2 separate regions of the Homo sapiens genome follow, and region 2 is linked to region 1. The links are contacts of gene promoters, found by promoter capture Hi-C in blood cells and fetal thymus (Javierre and others, 2016). All regions are on one chromosome and are shown on one strand. Each heading gives the region's core, a stretch centred on a gene start or on the middle of the fragment in contact. The rest is flanking DNA. Distances are from core to core; before and after follow the strand shown. Region 1 holds the start of PHLDA1 (pleckstrin homology like domain family A member 1). Region 2 holds the start of E2F7 (E2F transcription factor 7).

Evidence for each region. Contacts are between HindIII fragments. The CHiCAGO score rates a contact against its expected background, and 5 or more counts as called.
Region 2: the fragment with the promoter of E2F7 here is called in contact with the fragment with the promoter of PHLDA1 in region 1 in 1 of 17 cell types (fetal thymus); the score reaches 5.1 in fetal thymus.

Annotation. Positions count from the first base shown.
Region 1 is chr12:76,030,526-76,037,303 of GRCh38, reverse strand. PHLDA1 (pleckstrin homology like domain family A member 1) reads left to right here and starts at 5,528. Exons shown (of 2, transcript NM_007350.3): 1 at 5,528-6,778. The coding sequence starts at 5,563. The coding sequence ends at 6,768. PHLDA1-AS1 (PHLDA1 antisense RNA 1) reads right to left here. Exons shown (of 2, transcript NR_186034.1): 1 at 6,710-6,778; 2 at 5,926-6,393. It overlaps PHLDA1-DT (PHLDA1 divergent transcript), which reads right to left and starts at 5,491. Exons shown (of 2, transcript NR_185978.1): 1 at 4,502-5,491; 2 at 2,915-4,040. It overlaps NAP1L1 (nucleosome assembly protein 1 like 1), which reads left to right. Exons shown (of 15, transcript NM_004537.7): 15 at 1-719. RefSeq lists an enhancer at 5,373-5,622 and a silencer at 5,843-5,992. The HindIII fragment of the contact is 8,299 bases long and covers 1-6,778 here.
Region 2 is chr12:77,062,428-77,069,205 of GRCh38, reverse strand. E2F7 (E2F transcription factor 7) reads left to right here and starts at 3,637. Exons shown (of 13, transcript NM_203394.3): 1 at 3,637-3,861; 2 at 4,571-4,663. The coding sequence starts at 4,571. RefSeq lists enhancers at 3,018-3,247, 2,983-3,689, 6,089-6,238, 6,269-6,328 and silencers at 3,298-3,727, 3,748-3,797. The HindIII fragment of the contact is 4,360 bases long and covers 2,899-6,778 here.

The sequences.
Region 1 (6,778 bases), core at 4,279-6,778:
GTCACTAGGAGGCATCAGTTCATCAACTACTAAGGCGAAAAGGAAGGCAGCTCTGGACACCCACCTAAGAAGTCTGGATAGTTCTGTGTTAATACTTAACGTTTTCAACTCAAGGACTTTTGGAAACTAGAATCTAGAATATTTCTTCTGAATAGTACTTCAAAGATGAAATAAGGCTAAGAAGTCTAAACTGCACTCTGTGAGACTATTTGTTTATTTATTTAATTATTTATTTTGAGACAGATTCTCGCTCTGTTGCCCAGGCTGGAGTGCAGTGGCGTGATCTTGGCTCACTGTAACCTTCACCTCCCTGGCTCAAGCAATTCTCCTGCCTCAGCCTCCCGAGTAGCTGGGATTACAGGCGCTGTGGGTTTTTTTTTTTTTTGTATTTTTAGTAGAGACGGGGTTTCACCATGTTGGCCAGACTTGTGTCGAGCTCCTGACCTCAGGCAATCCGCCTGCCTCAGCCTCCCAAAGTGTTGGGATTACAGGCGTGAGCCACCGCGCCCAGCCTTGGTTATCTTTTATACCCTGATGAGGGTAACGTGACATGTTCATAATTTACTGGGCTTTAACTTTTTCTTGAAAGATGTTTGACCTTTGGTCTATCCAAATCTTTAATAATGATCATTGTCATGAGTTTCTACTGTATATTGCAAATTGGTTTACAGATCAGAATTTTGTAATCATTATGAATTAAACACTTAATAACTTTCCAAGTTCTGTTACATGTCTTTAAGCCAGTATTGATTAATGGACTTTTAGTCAAGTGTTTGACTATGTAACTGCCAAGTAAGAAACTTACCAACTCAGTTCCATTACTGTGTTTCTCATGCTTCTAAATACTCTTACTAGAAAACAGTAGGATACTAGTTTATATAAACACCTCTCATGATATTAAATTGCATGTTGCTTGGGAAAAGGTTTGTGGGATTTATTTTAGATGTCTGACTATAAAAGCATTTAAGATTCAGAGAGGCCTAGCATGTAGTTATCCATTTAAAAAGTATACCAGAGATATGTTTGTAGGGCAAATTTCAAGTCCTTACATCTCAAGTTTTAAAAAGTAGGATGCATCATGAAAAATCTGTCAAAAGCATTTGAAAAAATTGATATTCTTTTTATGATGGGTATGGACTTCTAATTCAATTCAAGATTTCTACCTATGTTGAGCATCTACTTGGTATCAAGACTTTTTCTAGGTGATTGGGACACATCAGAAACAATGGTCCTTGCCCTCTTGAATAGCTTGCATACTATTCTAGTGGGAAGGGGAACAGAAATAAGCAATAGGTACAATAAATTATTGAGTAGCATGTTAGAAGATAATATATGCTATGGGAAAAATTAAGGGGAATTGAGTGGCTACCATTTGAGAGTGATCAGGATAGGCCTGTTGAGCCAAGACTTGAAGAAAGTGATGGAGATAACTTTGGGTGCTATGCTGAAAATAGATAACAAGGATAGAATCAGGGAGACAAGTTAGGAGGCCATCATAGTAATCCAGTGGGGGGATATGATGGTGATTTGGATCAGGGTGGTAATGAAGGAAGTGGACAGAATCCAGATGTAGTTGAAGGCCTAACCAGTAGGATTTCCTGACTAAATGTGTAGATTAAATATTGGGAGAGAAAAAAATTACTACAAGGCAGGCATGATTCTACACACTTGAAGGCCTGGGGCAAGAGTACAATGGAGATACCGTATGTTTAAATATTTAAAAGTACTGTTTAATGAAAATATGCCCAATGTGCCTGTCTTGACAAACTTTCATTAGAACTGGGAAGCCAGGTTTGTATTTATGCCAGAATATAACTTGCGGGCAGAGCTGACCCTCAGCCCATGAGCCACCTTCCTTTTCTTCCCACCCCGGCTCTGAACTGTATGGCAAGGGGCCTCCTGCACATTTACTTGGATGCCATAACCAGTATATTCGAACTGCCCTATCCCCCTAACACATCAGTGCATGCAATGATGATGTAATGCATTTCCTGGAACAGCTGGGGCTATTCTGGGCAGGGTATTTGGGGTCTTGAGTACCTAGAGTGTAGTGCAGAATGAGTATGCTCTCTAGATTGACATGTCATCTTGACTCTAAAGCACTCAATCCTAAAGCTCAGGGCCTTGGATAAGGGCCTTTCCTGGCCTGGTGTAAGGGCAGTACTGATCTACGGTTTTTAGTTTGAGCATCTGTACAGAGGATTGCTGTCAACTGAGAAAGGGGGCTGCAGGTAGAGTAGGTTAGAGTGAGGAAAATAGTTTGGGAGCTCATTCACATGTTTGATTTCTTAGACTACACAAGCCGTACTGTAGAGAAGTGTAAATGGAGAATTTTCAACTTATAGTAGCACTCACTGGCCTGGAATTGATAAAAACTGAAGGCTGTTTTTCACTATAGTTAATTCTAACCTATAAACTGGAGCAGTTCCATGTAGGAATTTGTTAAAACCTATTGTGTATGAATTACAGACTCCTCTGACCATCCGAGTGTTCTTTTTCAGTTTTTTTTTTTTTTTCCTATGACCTAAAATCCCCTCAGACTTAAACCTTTAGTGAACTACTCAGTAAATGGCTTTACTAGTAAGTGTTCCCTTGCCTGGTATGTTTATTATTTTTTAACTTCAGTGTTTTATTCTTCGGCAGTAAGCAGTTGGATATAAGTTGGGGGTATAAATTTGGGACTCTGGCATATAGATGTTATTAAAAGTGATGAGACTGGATATCAACAAGGGAATGAGTGTAGATAAAGAAGAGAGCCAAAGACAAAGACTTGGGGCATTCCAACATTAAAAGTTTGGAGAGAAGAGAAAGCACCTCATAGAGGAGACACTGGAGATGTAAAGGAAAACTGAGTGATGTCCTTGAAGCCAAGTGATAAACTTTATCCAAGAGAAGAAAATGAACTGTCCAGTGCTGCTGATAGATAACTTTATATTGCCAGCTGTAAAATGTACTTTCAATTAGCCATTTCAAATTTGTTTACCAAAGCAATGATTTTGTTGGCTAGTTTTCTAAACTTCAGTAACTTTTCAGTGACTTGTAGGTTTTCATTGCATATACAGCTGAATTTTTTTTTTTTTTTAAACAGGGTCTTGCTGCCACCCAGGCTTGTATAGTGGTGCGATCCTAGCTCCTGCAACCTTGAACTTCTGGGCTCAAACAGTCCTCCACCTCAGCCTCCCAAGTAGCTGGGGCTACATGGCGCATGCCACCACACCTGGCTAATTTTTTTTTTACATTTGTAGAGGGAGGCCTTGCCATGTAGCCCAGGTTGGTTTCAAACTCCTGGGCTCAAGGGATCCTCTCACCTCAGCCTCCTAGAGTGTTGGTATTACAGGTGTGAACCACCATGCCTGGCCCAAAAGTTGTTTTTTTTTTTTTTAAGTTATTTTCTGTAATGCATTTTCTGTGAATTTATTGTCTTAAAAATTGGCAAATATGGCCATTTTGACATATTTGCCAAATATGAGCATATGGCAACTATGCTCTTAATTTGTTAAGTCACCAACTGTTGGTGGTAACTGTTGAAATAACAAGAGCAAAGTTATCACCAATCTACGGGATCCTTACACTACTGATATTTTCAATAATGCACCGTAGTCAGACATTGTAGACTTAACCTCTGAGCTGCTCACAAAATTACTAAATCATTCTGAAATACGTAACTGCAAATTCTGGGCTTTAAAGTCTCTAGTTAAATGGGTGATTTTGAAAATTGGTGGCTGTTCAGACATTTTCAAATGAGAATAGAATGCATTTGTTTCAGACTGATAAACTGCAGAAGGTTAGATAACACCAAACACATTTGAGTTTCTCCTAAGAAAATGACTTGGGCCTCCAGATTACATCTCATTTTTTTTTTTTTTACCCTATCAAGTTTGTTTTTCCATATGAAATGTCTTTCCCAACTACACCTGCCCTTGGAGACTGTGAATAACAGACTTAAAGGAAGTATCCTTTCCAGATGAGCTGAAGAATGTCATCCTCTTAAAAGAATGAACAGCTGGTCATGTAGAAATTCTCTGGAATGCTCACTTGTCCTACAAAGGCAGGGGAGCAGAAAACATGTAGTTTTTTTGTTATTGGTATACATAATTGTAAATCTTCGAGATAATTTTACTAGAAGTCCACATAATTTTAATAATTGCCTTTCTCCTGAAAAGATTGCTAATAAATTAACAATGTGAAGGCTAGAAAGCTGGCCAAGCATAATCCGGTGGGACTCAGGATTGCTGGCTGGATTGTCCCGTTTGATCAGACATTGTTTCTTAGATGAATATTCAGGACGCCCTCGTGTATAAAAGTTGTCCTTTGTTCTGACTACCTTGGTATTAAGTTCGAATTTCTTACCATGACACACAAAGGATTCGATTCTTGCTTAGCTCTCTAAGCTCCTCTCACTTTCTCTTCCCCTCTTGAATTCTTTGCTCTTGCCACACAACTAGCAGATGAACTAATCTATCTGTTCCAACGTGGGCACAGTAGCAGCCGTAACTCTTACCTTGGCCCACTCTGACTTGTCCAGCCCTGGTTGAATTCTTCGTATCCCCGTGAGGGTCCGCACGTAGTTGGGGCTGTTTACTAAACGGATGAACTTCCCTACCGGGAGGCTAGGTCTCGGTTATGCCTTACTTCCCAGGAAGCGGCTTCTATAGGCATTGTTTAAATGTAGGAGTAGGAGGGAGCTGGGGGTATTGCATTCCCCAGGTCACAGATAAATGAGATTCCAAAACCAAGATCTGGCTAGGCCTTGGAAAGAGGGACCTGCGAGGCCGACCAGACGTTTGGAACTGCGCCTTGCAGTGTGGGATCTCAGCACCGGATATTACCCCGGTTTGTAGAGAGTTGAGTTACTGTTTTAAGAGACGTTGCAAACCGTACGGGTCAAGAAGAAAGCCGAAGACGGGTTAGCGCCTGCGGTCGGGGTCGAGAAAAGCAGGCGAGATGCGACCTGACGTGGGTCCGCCTCTCTCCACCCGTGGCAAGCCCGACAGTCGCACTATTGCTTTAACAATCGCCCTCTTTCCAAGAAGAGCTACTTAGTGACCGTGAGCGAATATGCGTGGGAAGACACGATGTCCTCTCGGCCTCTGTGCGCTCAGTTGTTTACCTAGGCGTCCGGGGGAGGCACACTCGCGGGACTCGCGGGACTCGGCCCCGGCCTCCCAGCTCGCCCAGGACACGACGCTGGTTCTGCGGGCTCTCGGAGCCCAGCGCGAATCCCCCGGGCTAATTCCCAAGAACCGAGAGGCAGCACTGCCTGGAGGCTGCCCCCGCCTCCGCGCCCCCGTCCTCACTTTCTGAGGCTGTTAGCAGAGAGTCCCGCGGGCCGGGGAGAAGCGGGACGCGGGGGATGGCCTCGCAGCGCCCTGTGAGCGTCGGCAGTAGTCAGGCAGCCAGGGCTCCTTGGGCGATCGCCCTGGGTAGAGGAGAGGAGTTTCCGGGGCTCGGGTCCGGGTCGCCTTCCAGGGGAACGAGCGCGGAAGCAAGTGGGCGGCGAGAGGCGGAGCAAGAGACGCTGGAGGGCGTGGACGCAGCGGGCTTTGGAAAGGCCCCAAGTTAATGAGGCGTGCGCCGGCTGCCGAGCGCCTCTTGGAGCTGGGCTTTCCCCCGCGGTGCGGGCGCCAGGAGCCGCCTTTTCCGCTGGGTGTCACTCGGGGGTGGGGAAGATGGCCCATTCAAAAGCGCCGCGAGGGGGCCCGGCCAGTGCCCTTCAGTGAGCGCTCGCAAGAGGACGGCAGAGGCCCGGCAGCTCGGAGCTCCGGGACCTTGTGGCGCATCAGGACGCGGCTGTCCCTCTGCCGGGACCCAGAGCCGCCGCCGCCGCTCTGCCTCCTGCGTGTTAGCCTCCTCTGCGCGCTCCGGGCAGGCGGCCGTGGGAGCCGCTGGGGCGAGGACGGCGCGAGGCTGCTGCTGCTGCCCCCGGCCCGCGCGGCTGGAAACGGAGAGGCCGAGCCAAGCGGCGGCCCCTCTTATGCTGGGAGGATGCTGGAGAGTAGCGGCTGCAAAGCGCTGAAGGAGGGCGTGCTGGAGAAGCGCAGCGACGGGTTGTTGCAGCTCTGGAAGAAAAAGTGTTGCATCCTCACCGAGGAAGGGCTGCTGCTTATCCCGCCCAAGCAGCTGCAACACCAGCAGCAGCAGCAGCAACAGCAGCAGCAGCAGCAGCAACAACAGCCCGGGCAGGGGCCGGCCGAGCCGTCCCAACCCAGTGGCCCCGCTGTCGCCAGCCTCGAGCCGCCGGTCAAGCTCAAGGAACTGCACTTCTCCAACATGAAGACCGTGGACTGTGTGGAGCGCAAGGGCAAGTACATGTACTTCACTGTGGTGATGGCAGAGGGCAAGGAGATCGACTTTCGGTGCCCGCAAGACCAGGGCTGGAACGCCGAGATCACGCTGCAGATGGTGCAGTACAAGAATCGTCAGGCCATCCTGGCGGTCAAATCCACGCGGCAGAAGCAGCAGCACCTGGTCCAGCAGCAGCCCCCCTCGCAGCCGCAGCCGCAGCCGCAGCTCCAGCCCCAACCCCAGCCTCAGCCTCAGCCGCAACCCCAGCCCCAATCACAACCCCAGCCTCAGCCCCAACCCAAGCCTCAGCCCCAGCAGCTCCACCCGTATCCGCATCCACATCCACATCCACACTCTCATCCTCACTCGCACCCACACCCTCACCCGCACCCGCATCCGCACCAAATACCGCACCCACACCCACAGCCGCACTCGCAGCCGCACGGGCACCGGCTTCTCCGCAGCACCTCCAACTCTGCCTGAAAGGGGCAGC
Region 2 (6,778 bases), core at 2,388-4,887, 1.0 Mb before region 1:
AATGTGGCACTTATACACCTTGGAATACTATGGAGCCATAAAAAAGGATGAGTTCATGTCCTTTGCCAGGACATGGATGAAGCTGGCAATCATCATTCTCAGCAAACTAATACAAGAACAGAAAACCAAACACCACATGTTCTCACTAACGAATGGGAGTTGAACAATGAAAACACATGGACACAGGGAGGGGAACATCACATGCCAGGGCCTGTCATGGGGTAGGGGGCAAGGGGAGGGGTAGGGGTAGCAAGGGGAGGGGTAGCTTTAGGAGAAATAGCTAATGTAGATGACCGGTTGATGGGTGCAGCAAACCACCATGCCATGGCACGTGTATACCTATGTAACAAACCTGCATGTTCTGCACATGTATCCCAGAACTTATTTTTATATATATATATATATATATATATATACACACACACACACACACACACACACACACACATATATATATATATATAGAGAGAGAGAGAGAGAGAGAAATATGGCCCCAAATTCTTTGACACTTCTCCCATTGAGAGTGAGGTATATGTCTTCTCCCCTTGAATGTGGATGGATTTTTGACTGTTTCCTCCCAAAAACTGTAGTGGAATTGATGCTATCAGTTCTTAGGCTACGTCACAAAAGGTGATACTATTTCCACTTTGCTACATGACACATTCATTTTGGATCCCAGGAGCCACCCTGGAAGAAGTCCAACTACCTTGAGCTACCAGGATATCTAGACCAGGCCATATGGAGAGGTCACATGTCGAGACTCTTCTTGATACTCCAGCCTAGTTCCCAGCCAACATCAGTGTCAACTGAATTACCGAGAGATTAACAGGTTATGTATGCATTCTGGGACTTAAAAACATCAATATAAATAAGTGTGTTGGAATAATGTCTCTGAATTTGTCCATCAAACATTTATTTTTCAGTTTTCCTCCAAATCTAAGATAACTCTTATAATCAATGAAATTATAAGTGCCTGAAGTGATGTATCCAACTGAGTTTTTTTTGTAACTTGAATAGAAATTACATTTGTATCAAAATAGAAAAAGTACTTTTACTCTAAAAATGTTAGGAAAAGCCCTGTACCGTGAAACTGTCTAACCTCAAAGAAACGATCATTAGTATTTTGAAATATCAGAGAAATGAATGGACTTTAATAATTTGAATGTTGGTCTAGAAGGCTGAATGGTGGGCCCCAAAAAGGTGTATCCATGTCCTAATCCCCAGAACCCATGAAGGAATGTTACTCTGGAAAGAGGATCTTCCCAGATGCAATTAAATTGAAGATCTCAAGATGAGATCATCCTGGACTATCCAGGTGGGACCTAAATTCATTGACAGGTGTCCTCATAGGAGACACACAGGAGAGACTTAACAGACAAAAGAGAAAGCAACGTAACTATGGAGGTAGAAATTGGAGTGAGGCTGCCACGTGTCAAGGACTGTTAACAGCCACCAGAAACTGGAAGAGGAAAAGGACAAGAGCCCCAGAGGGAGTGTGGCCCTGGGAATACCTTAACTTTCCAGAACTGTGAGAGACTAAATCTCTGTCCTTATAAGCCAGTTGTAATTTGTTACAACAGCCATAGAAAATGAATACTGTTGGGAAAAGTATTTCCTTATCTAAACTTCTGCTTCCACATATGTGCAAAATTTAATAAGTTGCAATTTTTTATTGTTTAAACTTCTCATTAGGTTTCTACCTACAAAAGAGATTTCAGTTCAAAATGTTATTCCTATAAAAAATGTCAGATTTTTATTACTATTTTCTTTTGTTTAATGTTTTGCATACTTTTCTCTTTTCAATGTATGACCTAGCAGTGATTTTTTTTTTTTTAGGCCGTATTTACCAGCAATCTAGAGTACGAAGTGAAGGACTTGATTGAGCATTCTGAATTCTGCTGAGAGTTCATTTAAAATATATGTATTTGAGGCCGGGCACGGTGTCTCACACCTGTAATCCCAGCACTTTGGGAGGCCAAGGCAGGCAGGCAGATCACCTGAGGTTAGGAGTTCGAGACCAACCTGGCCAACACAGCAAAACCCCATCTCTACTAAAAATACAAAAATTAGCTGGGCGTGGTGGCGCACGGCTGTAGTCCCAGCTACTCGGGAGGCTGGGGCAGAGAATCGCTTGAACCCAGGAGGTGGAGGTTTCAGTGAGCCGAGATTGGGCCACTACACTCTAGCCTGGGTGACAGTGCAAGACTCCGTCTCCAAAAATAAAATAAAATAAAAATATTTGGAGGGTAAGTGGTGAAGAATGGAGTCTTGGTATAGAAAGGAAAATGATACCTTTGCTGTAAAGTAGATGGGGGGTAGGGACATGTCTGTACATTTAAGAATGTCTGATGCTTTAAGAAGGCTGTCTCACATTTCAGTTGAGGGATATCTTACAAAATACTTGACCAATACTACTCAAAAATGTCCAGGTATCAAAAATGAGGAAAGTATGAGAAACTGTCATAGCCAAGAGGAGCCTAGAGACATAGGAACTAAAGGTAATGTGGTATCCTGAACAGAAAAAAGGGCCATTAGGAAAAAATTAAGTAAATCTGAATAAAGTAATGACTTGAGCTCAGAAGAATGTACCAATATTAGATCATTAATTTCAAAAAATATTCTATACTAACACAAAATGTTAATAGTGGGTGAAATTGGGTGCTGAATATATGGGAATTCTTGGTACTATCTCAATTTTTCTGTAAATTGAAAACTTCTAAACAATAAAGTCTGTTTTGTAAAAAGTCCATCTCTACCAACATTCATATTTTAAACAAGAAACTGTAGGATGAAAGAAGTGAAACATTTAATACAGATCAGTGGTGTTGAGGAAATTTTCTAGACTGTCTCCCAGAATGCTAGTCCCTATTGCAAAGAACTACTTTTTTATATAAAGCTTTTTCCCTCCTAATTATTTGCAATTTGCCGAAAAGGGAACACCAAAAAACATTTCCGGATTTGCCACACACACAAAACAAACAAACAAAAAAAAGTTAGAAAAACTTCTGGTTTGGCTTCCAGTCTTGTCTCCAGGGCTAACTGGCGTGCCATCTGCTCGCAGCAGAGCGGTAACCATGGTTCATGTGTCACACCAGCGTGCGATGTTAAGAAGTTTGCCCCGGCAAGTCTGGACAACTCCGCTTCCGCACAGGTTGCTGAGGGCGGGCGGGGATGGCGGCAGCAGCATCCAGAGGGTGTAGATCGTTCTTCCAAACCCCATCTGCTTTCCTGTCCTCTGGCTGTGCCCGGGGTCCCCGGGCGCGGCAAGCCGCGGGGACGTGCGCGGGTCTTCTATGCATAACAAAAGAGCCCTCCTCCTCCTCTTCCTTCTCCCGCCGCCCCGCGCCGCCCCGCGCCGCCCCCACCTTGGCTTCCCGCGGCCGCCGGGGCCCGCGTCCCCAGCAGGAATTGGCTCCCGGGCCCGAGGTTTCCAGGTACCCGGAAGGGGGAGGGGGCCGAGGCGGCAACAATTGGGCGGGTGAGGGCAAAACGCGCGGCTCGGAGCGCCAAGACTCCGAGGGGCGGTGAGCCCGGGCCGTGCCGCCGCACGATTGGCCGGGGCCGCCCCGCCGGCCGCCGCTGATTGGTGGATTCTCAAATTCGGTCTCAAGGCGCCAGAGGAGGTGTTTTAGCGGGGACTACGATCCAGGCTGGAGTTGCGCTCGGCCGGTCTGAGCGCTGGCGCTGCCCGGACGCCGCGGGGTCCCCGCCAGCCCAGGGCACTCGGCGCGGGGATCTGCGCGCCTCGCTCTCCCTTCCCGATGCCGCCGCCCGGCTGCTGATCGCCGCACCACCTTCCCTCATCGGCTTGGGTCCGTGGAGGTCCCTGCAGAGGCAGGAAGCCTCCTTAGGAAAGCAGGGGTAAGCGTGCGGCCCCAGCGCCAGTGGGGAGGCGGGAATTGGGATACAGGGCCCACTCCCGCCCCGGCTGCCAGCCTGCCACTCCTCACGTCCCCCGGCTGGCGAGGGCTCGAGGTGTTTCTGCCGGGGAACCCGGTGCGCAGAGGGTGTGCCGGGTGCAGCTCTCACTCCGGCCCGGCAGTAGAGGGGATTTGCCCTTCCCCACAACTTGGAGCTTTCATTGGAGAAGTTTATTTGGGGGATCTGCTTGGAGGCCTGGGAAGGGGCTGCGCTCAGCGCTGAGTGGGTTTGGTCTAGCGATCGGGTTTCCTTCCCCCGATTCAAAACCCCTCAAAGCCGAATTCCTCTCAGTTCTTTGCGCCAAAATTAACTGACCTGGGAGACCCTGTACTTTTCTGACAGATTTGCCCAACACCCTTCCGACTTGGTAACTTTATTTTGCCATCTAGCTTTTCATAAGGAGTTACTATTTTTGTAGATTTTTTTCTTCCCAGATTTTCAGTATTACTAAGCACACTTTAGGTGTTTGAGTTTGTTCGCGTGAGTTTTAGAAAGTTGAGGGTGGCTACAACTCCTGGAAATGCCCAGGATGTGCTTAGAGAAGGGGGAATTTCATATTGACAAACAAGTAACACATATGTAGATATTTTTGTTTGAGGAAAAAATACCTAATTGCAAAATCATTTTCTAGTGTAATTGTGCATTACAGATGGAGGTAAATTGTTTAACACTAAAAGACCTGATCAGCCCCAGGCAGCCCAGACTAGATTTTGCAGTTGAAGATGGGGAAAATGCACAAAAGGTAAGCAAACATAAACACCTTAGTTTCTAATATGTTAAGGATGGTGATGTTGAATTCAATTAAGTGTTCCAACATGCCATTTGTATTTGTATTTAAGCATAATAATTAATATTGATAAACATTATAGAAACATTCTTTTTTAAAAATAGAGCCATCCAAACCATTATTGTTGGAATTCTACTCTCAGATATAGTGGGAAAAATAGGCAAGGTTACATGTAATGTTGTAACCAATTTATATAAGTCAAAAATATGCTGGCTACAGCAATCAAAGTTTATAATACAGTTGTCAAGGGTGGTGTAGCTAGTGCTCTGTAGGAATGCTAAGCCTCAGTTCCCAGGAAAATAGACCTTTGCAGGCATAAATGCTGGATTATTAAAGTGCTGTGAAATGTCTTCATACCAATGAACTAGCTCCCAGAGACTGTTCCATTCACCCAAGAGTAGACCTGTGCCTACTATATAGGGAGATAAAGTGGCTGAACTCATCAGTATATTCTGAATATTTTACCATACTGTTGCTAGTTTTGCACTGAGCCATTCCCTTACATTTTGCACCCCTTGTGATTTGTAAGACCAAGATGTTGTTTTCAAGAACATTACAAAGTAAACTGGCCATAACAATGTCTAAACTATCTGAGCATTTTTAGGCACAGGCAAATAGAAATAACAAACCAAGTTTTAGAAACTTTGAATATAAATCTGTGAGTAGCAACTTGGGCATTGAACTTCTCCGAGCTCCTGGTCTTATTTTTAGGCTTAGCATCAACAGTGAAACTCCTTGGTTGCAAAGCAACCCAGGCTCATATGAGCCTTTGAAGAATACTTGATAATTGCTAATTTAGGATAGATGCGAAATTGTATGCTCCCCCATCTAGGGATTTTTTTTTTGTCCGGCATTTTGATTTATTTTTATTAGGTAAAGAAATACAGTAGTTCCCCTTATCCACAGGGAATGTGTTCCAAGACCTGCAGTGAGTACCTGAAACTGTGGATAATAGTGAACCAGATTGCCATTAGTTGGAACACATTTCTGTTTATTCTGTTTATGTTTTCCACCCCCAAATTTAGTGCCTTTTCCATCTTAACTAAGTACTTATGTACCATGGCTATAACTTTTGCAGTTTGGGGTATGACAGCAAAACTAGCATGAATTTCTCTTTCATTCTTTACAATTTCACAGATAGGAGACTAATTCTTACAGTAGATCTTAGCAACCTTGGCGTACGATTTTCTTTCCTTAAGTCAAGAACGTTCACCTTTTCACTTAAAAGAAGCACTTTATGGCTTCCCTTTGGCATATCCAAATTGCCAGCATCACTACTCTTGTGCTTTGGAGCCATTATGAAGTCAAATAAGAGTTACTCGAACATGAGCACTGCAATACCGTGACAGCCAGCCTGAAAACACAGTGGCTGCTCGAGCAGGTAGTATCTACCGTGCAAATACGCTGGACAAAGGGGTGAGTCACATCCGAAGCAGGACGGAGCAGGATGACGTGAGATTTCATTACACAGAACTGCACACAATCTAAAACTCATGAATTGTTTATTTCTGGAATTTTCCATGTGATATTTTTGGACCGCAGTTGGCCACTGAAAGTGAAACCACAGATAAAGTGAAGATTATTTAAAGTGGCCTTTTTTTTTTTTTTTTAATTATCTAAGTCATGAGGGTGGAAATGCCCAGACTTAAAGTATATATTCAGAGTTTTGGCTTTGAGAGTTTTAGAGCAAAACTTTGTTTTCCTTTCCAATTTGGATGGTTCAGCCTTGAAAAAATACACATCCATACATTTATATAACGTCTAAGTCAGTGCTTTACTTCTCTTCCTCTGGGTCAATGACTTTTATCAAGTACCTTCAACAAAGACCCTTCTCCTCTAGCATCAGCAAGTGCTACTGTGTCCAGTTGAGCTTTCACATTCTAATGTGTGTGGGGAAAAAAAACTCAAGTGACTTAAAGAGATTGGGAAAGCAGTGACAATGTTTGAAATAGCATTTATGAGCAGGGATTATGTCAACTCAAATAGAAGGCAAGAGATGAGAACAGGGTGCTTCCACAGAGTTACTAGGAGGGGCTTCTGTCTGTCTTTTTCATGCTGCTATGAAGTAAA